2 separate regions of the Homo sapiens genome follow, and region 1 is linked to region 2. The links are contacts of gene promoters, found by promoter capture Hi-C in human tissues and cell types (Jung and others, 2019). All regions are on one chromosome and are shown on one strand. Each heading gives the region's core, a stretch centred on a gene start or on the middle of the fragment in contact. The rest is flanking DNA. Distances are from core to core; before and after follow the strand shown. Region 1 has its middle 5.9 kb from the start of SLC7A5. Region 2 holds the start of ZCCHC14 (zinc finger CCHC-type containing 14).

Region 1 (3,796 bases), core at 853-3,352, 380 kb before region 2:
CAGCTACTCAGGAGGCTGAAGCAGGAGAATGGCGTGAACCCGGGAGGCAGAGTTTGCAGTGAGCCGAGATCGCGCCACTGCACTCCAGCCTGGGTGACAGAGCGAGACTCCGTCTCAAAAAAAAAAAAAGACCGGTCTCGCTCTGTCGCCTAGGCTGGAGTGCAGTGGCATGATCTCAGCTCACAGCAGCCTCAACCTTCCTGATCTCAGGTGATCCTTCTACCTCAGCCTCCCCGGCAGCTGGAACTACAGGTGCACCACCACCACGCTGGGCTAGTTTTTGTATTTTTTGTAGAGACGGGGTCTCCCTATGTTGTCCAGGCTGGTCTTGAACTCCTGGGCTCAAGAAATTCTCCCACCTTGGTCTCCCAAAGGGCTGGCATTACAGGCATGAGCCACAGCGCCCAGCCTCCAAGTCATCTTTGACACGCAGAGCACATCTGAGAGCAGCAACAAGACTAACGTTGGGGCCAAAGTTAAGAAGTGGGGCGGAGCCTCCCTGGTGGCCGGTCATCAGCCCAGTGCCTGAAATGCATGCAAAGTCTATTTTTATTTTACCTAGTTGAACCTAAGCAAAAAATCTGGCCCTACAATCCCTAACCTTGCTCCTAGCTGTTACTGAGCAATCGCAGGGCTTCGGATTTTACTTGCAGGCATGGACACTGTTTACCGTTCCCCCATACGAACTTCAGGAAACGGGTGGGGGGACTACCCAAGTGTTCAAACAGAAGCTAGAAGGATTCGGTGAAGGAAAGTCATGAGTGTCTTTTCTTTAACAAGAATGGTGGATGTTTCCAGTGAAGAGGCAATGAGGCTTTCAAGGTGCCACCAGGGGCAGCTGAAATGAAGTTCTCTTTTTTTTGTTGTTAGATGGATTCTCAGTGTGTTGCCCAGGCTGGAGTGCAGTGGCACAATCTTGGCTCACTGCAACCTCTGCCTGCTGGGTTCAAGCAATTCTCCTGCCTCAGCCTCCCGAGTAGCTGGGATTACAGGTGCCTGCCACTGCGCCAGGCTAATTTTTGTATTTTTGGTAGAGACGGAGTTTCACCATGTTGGCCAGGCTGGTCTTGAACTCTTGACCTTGTGATCTGCCCACCTCAGCCTCCCAAAGTGCTGGGATTACAGGCGTGAGCCACCGCCCCCGGCCAAAATTCTCTTTTAACTGGGAGAATCCGCATGCTTATGAATCTGGCTGCCTATGTAAGTGGCGCCATCAGCGTGGCAGTCAGCATTGCCACGAGGATTAAAGGCCTGCCCTGGGTCTGAAGCTGGGCTTGGCCACTTACTGAACTGCCCTTTTTCTCCAACCATAAATGACAACTAACTATAGTTGCTGCAAAAATTAAATGGCATAGAGAGTGTGAAAGGAACATAAATCCTGGGACCCCACACTTGCTAACGAAAGGGAAAAGTGAAGCTGGTGACCGTGTCATGGGAACCAGCCTCCTGTTTCGGCTCCTAATTATTTAACAAACAGCTACAGAGATGAAAAGTTTGGCTGGGCTTGGTGGCTCACCCCTGTAATCCCAGCACTTTGGGAGGCCAAGGCGGGTGGATCACTTGAGGTTAGGAATTCCAGACCCGCCTGGCCAACATGATGAAACCCCGTCCCTACTAAAACTGCAAAACTTAGCCGGGCATGGTGGCAGGCGCCTGTAATCCCAGCTACTTGGGAGACTGAGGCAGAAGAATCAGTTGAACCCGGGAGGCAGAGGTTGCAGTGAGCTGAGATCGACCCACTACACTCCAGCCTGGTGACAGAGTGAGACTCCGTCTCAAAAAAAAAAAAAAAAAAAGATGAAAAGCGACACACCTCCCTCACATTTTGCCCATAAGGAAATTCCTTGTGGGCTCCAAGATCTTTACCCTAAGCGCTTCTGTTAAAGTTCACCCTGGCAATGTGAACCGTTAGCTTATCTTCACAGGTGCTGGGACGAGGGGCAGAACTGAGTCATCCCTCCGCCCACCTGAAGCAAATGCATATCTCATTGTTTCCGCTGCCCTATCGTCTAGGGTATCTTACGTGAAACGGCAGAGTCACTAAACCAGACAAAAACTTGAATTTTCCCCTACCCCCTTCACATGAAAATTGTGTACTGCCCAATATCCTGCCCTTCCCCCTTTCAATATTGAAGCCCTCAAAATCATCTTCGGAGAAAGGCATAGACCAGTCTCTCAGGTGCGCGTCCCTAATGTTGGCATTTAAAGCTAAAATGACGGAGACTTGCCTCGGTCGTCTTCCTTGACTGGCAAGAGTCTTTAAGGCCGAACACTGACTGAGTGGCTGCCCTACACACCTATCTGCCTGGAAACAGAACGGAATTTCTGATCGTACTCAGGGCAGCCCCACCTTGTCAAGCATGCAGATAGGAAAAGCTCACCTCTGAGCATAATAAAAGCATGGCTTTCAAAAACAACCTCCAGAAGAAGCAAGGACCCTTGCTATGTTAAAAGATGCAGGCATTTCTCCCCTGTGACTGAGAACCAGCCCGGCAGGGGACTCACAGGAGAGAGGCGGCCCCAGGAAGCCCCACTTCAATTAAGGGTTGTGAAGCCAGCAAATCTGAGACAGGCCTCCTTTAATTTAGAAAGCGTATTTTGCTAAGGTTGAGGGCGCACCCGTGACACAGCCTCGGGAGGTCCGGACCGCATGTGCCCAAGGTGGTTGGGGTGCAGCTTGGTCTTATACATTTTAAGGAGACATGAGACATCAATCAAGTACATTTAAAAAATACATTGGTTTGGTTCAGAAAGGCGGGACAACTCAAAGCAGGAGGGGGGCTTCCAGGCTAGAGGTAAATGTAAACATTTTCTTTTTTTTTTTTTTTGAGACAAGAGTTTCGCTCTTCCACCCAGGCTGGAGTGCAGTGGCACAATCTTGGTTCACTGCAACCTCTGCCTTCTGGTTTCAAGCGATTCTCTTGCCTCAGCCTCCCATTACAGGCGGTGCACCAACACGCCCAGCTGATGTTTATATATATATATGTGTGTGTATATATATGTGTGTGTGTGTATATATATGTGTATATATGTGTATATATACGTATATATGTATATATGTGTATATACATATATGTATATATATGTGTGTATATATGTGTATATATATGTGTGTATATATGTGTATATATGTGTGTATATATATGTGTGTATATATATATATATATATATATATATTTTTTTTTTGAGACGGAGTCTCGCTTTGTCACCCAGGCTGGAGTGCAGTGGTGCGATCTCCCGTCACTGCAACCTCCGCCTCCCACGTTCATGCCATTCTCCTGCCTCAGCCTCCCGAGTAGCTGGGACTACAGGCGCCCACCACCACGCCCAGCTAATTTTTTTGTATTTTTGGTAGAGACGGGGTTTCACCATGTTGGCCAGGCTGGTCTTAAACTCCTGACCTCAAGTGATCTGCCTGCTTCGGCCTCCCAAAGTGCTGGGATTACAGGCATGAGCCACCGCACTCGGCCAATGTTTATATTTTTAGTAGAGATGGGGTTTCACCATGTTGGCCAGGCTGGTCTTTAACTCATGACCTCGAGATCCCCCCGCCTCGGCCTCCCAAAGTTCCCAAATCGCTGGGATTACAAGTGTGAGCCACCGCGCCCAACCAATTTAAACATTTTCTGGTTGACAATTGTTTGAGTTTGTTGTCTAAAGACCTGGGATTGTTGCCGAGCATGGTGGCTCACGCCTGTAATCCCAGCACTTTGGGAGGCCGAGGTGGGCAGATCACCAGGAGTTCGAGACCAGCGTGGTCAACCTGGTGGAACCCAGCCTCTACTAAAAATACAAA
Region 2 (4,303 bases), core at 1,040-3,539:
CAGCGGGAAGTGGGGAGGACCTTGATCCAAGGACTTCCACAGCTCAGGCCTCCCTTGTTCCAGCCAGCAAGGGCTTTCCATGAGCACCTTTGACTTCCACTGCTAGCCAGGATGACGGGTTCCTGGCTGTCTTCTACAGATGAGGAAACTGAGGCTCAGAGGCCTCTGAATGCATAGCCAAGTTCACACAGTCAGCCACAGCTGGGACTGGAGCTCACTTGGTACCAAAGCCTGGGGGTTTCACAGCCAGCTCGGCTGGATTGAAGAAGCCCCACCCCCACCCCCAGCACTAATGAGGTTCCAAGATCTTTCTCCAAGGAGCTTGCTTTATCAATAAGAAATGAATCTTTTGTTTTGTTTTGTTTTTGAGACAGAGTCTTACGCTGTCACCCAGGCTGGAGTGCAGTGGCGGGATCCCCATTCACCGCAACCTCCCTTTCCCGGGCTCGGGCAATCCTTCCACTGCAGTCTCCCAAGTACCTGGGACTACAGGCACATGCCACCACATCTGGCTAATTTTTGTAGTTTTTGTAGAGATGGGATTTCGCCATGTTGCCCAGGCTGGTCTCGAACTCCTGGGCTCAAGGGATCTACCCTCGGCCTCCCAAAGTACTGGGATTACAGATGTGAGCCTCTGAGCCCAGCCAAACTGTCTTGATGTTCACGTTCTTTCACTACCTTAGATTATGAATTTTGGAATGTGGCCAGTTCCCTGGAATCACATTAAGAAGTGAGGTCCAGGACAACGACGATTAATTTAATTATTAATAGAAATCAGCCTAGACCTGGGAAATAAGATGAGGAGACCCAACTGTCCCCAGCCTTGCCCTTGTGCCCATGTGGGAGGCCATCCTGACTCCATTTAGATTTTTGCTTCTTCCTACACTGACAAAGAACACTGGGGCAGCTCCAGGGAAATGTGCCCAAGGTGTGGAGGGGGCTGGGGGAGTGGAGAGCAATTTTTTTTGTTCCCAACCATGCCTTTCTGCAATCTCTGTTCATCCTCGAAGACCTAAGACTGGAGAATGTGGGGTTTGTTTGTTTTGGAGCGACTGGGGCGGGGAGGGGGGGTCTCACCATGTTGCCCAGGTTGGTCTTAAACTCTTGGCCTCAAGCGATCCTCCTGCCTCGGTCTACCCAGTAGCTGGAACCACAGGCGTGCCAGATTCGGCTGAAGAGTTTTGTTAGGAAGTTTTCAGCACCTTGGACCATATCCTGAAAAAGTTCATTCATTGATTTAACCAATCTCTAGTGTGCACTGCCCAGAACCAGAGTGTAAGCTCCACAGGGTAGGGAGGGCGCCAGCTTTGCTCTCAGCTGCCCCCGGGCGCTTGGGACCTGGAACCCATGAATGAACAGACCCCGTTCTAGATCAACAGACATTCAAAGCAGCGCTCTAGGGGAAGGGCAGGGGAGGAATGAGCGTCCAGCCCCCGCGGCTCTACTTCTATGCCTGTGTGTAAGTGGTGGGATTTAAAGGTGGTTGGGTGCACCGGCCCTTCCCCCACCTGCAATCCGGTGCCAATGCAAGTGCCAGGGGAGGGTGGCGTTTCTGTTTACTTCCAGCCAGGTCAGCTCCCTTGCCCCCTCCCCTGTGTTTGCATTTTCTGCGTTTGGCGAGCTGGTGAAGTAGCCGCGGAAAGAAGGCGGATTTAAAGGCTCCATTTGGACGAGGCTTTTGGAGAAAGCTTGCACCTCCCATCACACCCCCAGGGCAAGTCAGCCGCCTCAAAAGTGCCGGTGCCGGCCCTCTGTGAGCTCAACACCTTCGCACAAACCTCGGGGGCGGTTATTATTACCCTCTTTTTCCCGGGGAGGCGCCTGGGGCTCAGAGAGGCCAAGTGACTCGCCCAAGGTCACACAGCTTTGCAGTGGCCGACCCGGGATTGGAACCCGGGGCTCCGGACCCCGCGGCGGCCGTTTCTCGAAGATACCCACTACCTCCCTCTTACACCGCTCAAAAATAAAGCAGGAAGGCCGAACGCCCCGTTTTCGCCGAAAAACAATGCTCCACGCAAATTTGCGGGAACAAAAGCAACCAGAAATCCAGCCCGGGTTTTCCGCCTCTCCGATTCCGCGGACCAATCGCGTCTTGACGGCCGCCGAGGGACGGGAGGCGGTGGCCCCAACATGATCGACAGCCCCCAGGGAGGCGTGGCCGCGGAACGGGCGAATGGGATTGGGGACCCGGCACAATCACGGGCCGAGAACGGGCCGCCTGAGCCAATCAGTGGGGGGGGGACGGGCCCGGCAGGCCCGGGCTGTCGCGAGAGGCGGCCACCCCGCCCACTTCTGCTGATCCCGGCCGCCCGTCAGCCGCGAGCGCGACGATCCCTCCGCTCCTCGGCCGGCGCCTCCTCCGCCGTCGCCGTCGCCGTCGCCGTCGCCGTCGCCGCCGCCGCCGCGCTCGGGCCCGGATCCGTCCGCCGCGCGGGAGCAGCAAGGCCGGCAAGTCCCGGCCGGATCCCTCCGCGCCTCCCGCCGCGCGTCCCTCCCCCTCCAGCGTCCGTTTCGCGGCCGCGGCCCCCAGCGCTCCCCAGGCGGCGACGCCGCGCCCGCGGCCCGGGGTAACGGCCGGCCTGGGCGGAGGCGCGGGCGGCGGCGACGGCATGGCCGGGGCGGCTCCGTCGGGGGGCGGCCCGCAGTGACAGACCCTGCGGCGCGGGGGGAGATGGGGGCGGCCGCCTCCCGGGCGACGACGACGACGACGACGAGGAGCAGCCGCCGCCGCCGCCGCGCACCGGCCGCCGCTGGGCACGGGCGCGGGGAAGGCGCCTCCCCGTGAGCGGGGGGCCCGAGGCCGCTCGCCGCCCCCGGCCGCCCCGGCCGCCCCGGGCCCCCCCGGCGCCCCGCGCGCGCCCGCCCGCCGGCCCCTGACGGGAGCCTTGCCCGGCCCCGGTCCCCGCCCCCGCCCCGGCGCCCGCCCGGCCCGCGGCGCCCGCGCGCCCTCGCCCGGACCCGGCCCCGGCCCGCGCGTCCCCGGTCCCGGCGCGCCCCGGCCGCGGCCCCCGGCGCCCCCCGGCCGCCCCCGCGCGGTCCCCGGCCCCGGGTCGCGGCGCGGCGCGGGCGGCAGCATGGTGGAGAAGCGCTGCCCGCTGCAGAGGGACGGCGTGTACCGCTGGTTCTCGGAGCTGCCGTCGCCGCAGCGCGTGGAGTTCCTGTGCGGCCTGCTGGACCTGTGCATCCCGCTCGAGCTTCGCTTCCTCGGCTCGTGCCTGGAGGACCTGGCCCGCAAGGACTACCACTCGCTGCGCGACTCGGAGATCAAGGCCAACAACCCGGCCGACCTGGGCAGCCTCACCAACCTGACGGACGAGGTGGTGCGCAGCAAGCTGCTGGTGTCGCTGGCGCTGCTGGGCTCGGAGCAGCGCGAGGCGGCGGGCGTGCTCTACCGCACGCTCACGCACATCGACTCCATCATCCACAACTACGGGCTGCAGCTTAACGAGGGCCGCACGGGCGATGAGTTCCTGCTGCTGTTCACCATGGCCTCCAACCACCCGGCCTTCAGCTTCCACCAGAAGCAGGTGCTGCGCCAGGAGCTCACGCAGATCCAGAGCAGCCTGAACGGCGGCGGGGGCCACGGCGGCAAGGGCGCGCCCGGGCCGGGCGGCGCGCTGCCCACTTGCCCAGCCTGCCACAAGGTGCGTGCCCGCCCCGAGCTCTGCCCTGTACCCCAAGTCTGCATCCCCAACTCTGCACTCCAAGCCTCCAGCCTGCACCGCGACCCCCCGACCCACGCCTCCAGCCTGCACTGAGAGCTCCCACCCAGGTCTCCAACCTGCACCACGAGCCCCCAGCCCGTATCCCAAGCCCCATCCTAAGCCTCTATGTCGCACCCCAAATGTGTGCCCCACCTCTCCAAGCCTCCACCGTACATCCCAAGCCTCCGCCGTACATCCCAAGCCTCCGCCGTACATCCCAAGCCCCCATCCTAAGCCCGCACTCCTCACCCTAAGTCTGCACTTTAAGCCCCAAGACCGCACCGCGGCCCTGAGCCCACACCCTCAGTCCCCTCTGCGTGCCCCAAAGCCTCCACACCTCCGCCTCGCGCCCCTTGGGCAGGAGCGGCTGCAGGGGCCCTGGGTCCGAGGATCCGCGGGAGCGGTGCGGGAGACGTCCGCGGTCAGAGCTCACAGTCCCAGGTGCCCTCCTTTCACTTAGCCGGCTGCAAACGCGATAAGGCCTTTGTCCCCTTAATGGGGCCCTTGGGTGACAGATAACACACATTGCGGCGCCTTGGTTTCCCCAAATCTGGTATTTATTACCAGAAAAGGAAGGAGCCGTGGCCACGCCAGAAGCC

The links. Contacts are between HindIII fragments. The study calls those that stand out against the background at their distance.
Region 1: a contact is called between a fragment that was not itself captured here and the fragment with the promoter of ZCCHC14 in region 2, in 1 of the 25 tissues and cell types used here (spleen).

Annotation. Positions count from the first base shown.
Region 1 is chr16:87,873,506-87,877,301 of GRCh38, reverse strand. No RefSeq gene overlaps it. Among named protein-coding and RNA genes, the nearest start is that of SLC7A5, 5.9 kb to the right of the region's middle. RefSeq lists an enhancer at 781-1,308. The HindIII fragment of the contact is 7,274 bases long and covers 1-3,796 here.
Region 2 is chr16:87,491,010-87,495,312 of GRCh38, reverse strand. It overlaps ZCCHC14 (zinc finger CCHC-type containing 14), which reads left to right and starts at 2,289. Exons shown (of 13, transcript NM_015144.3): 1 at 2,289-3,644. The coding sequence starts at 3,075. It overlaps ZCCHC14-DT (ZCCHC14 divergent transcript), which reads right to left and starts at 1,126. Exons shown (of 4, transcript NR_110943.1): 1 at 1,078-1,126. RefSeq lists a silencer at 2,171-2,350. The HindIII fragment of the contact is 17,996 bases long and covers 1-4,303 here.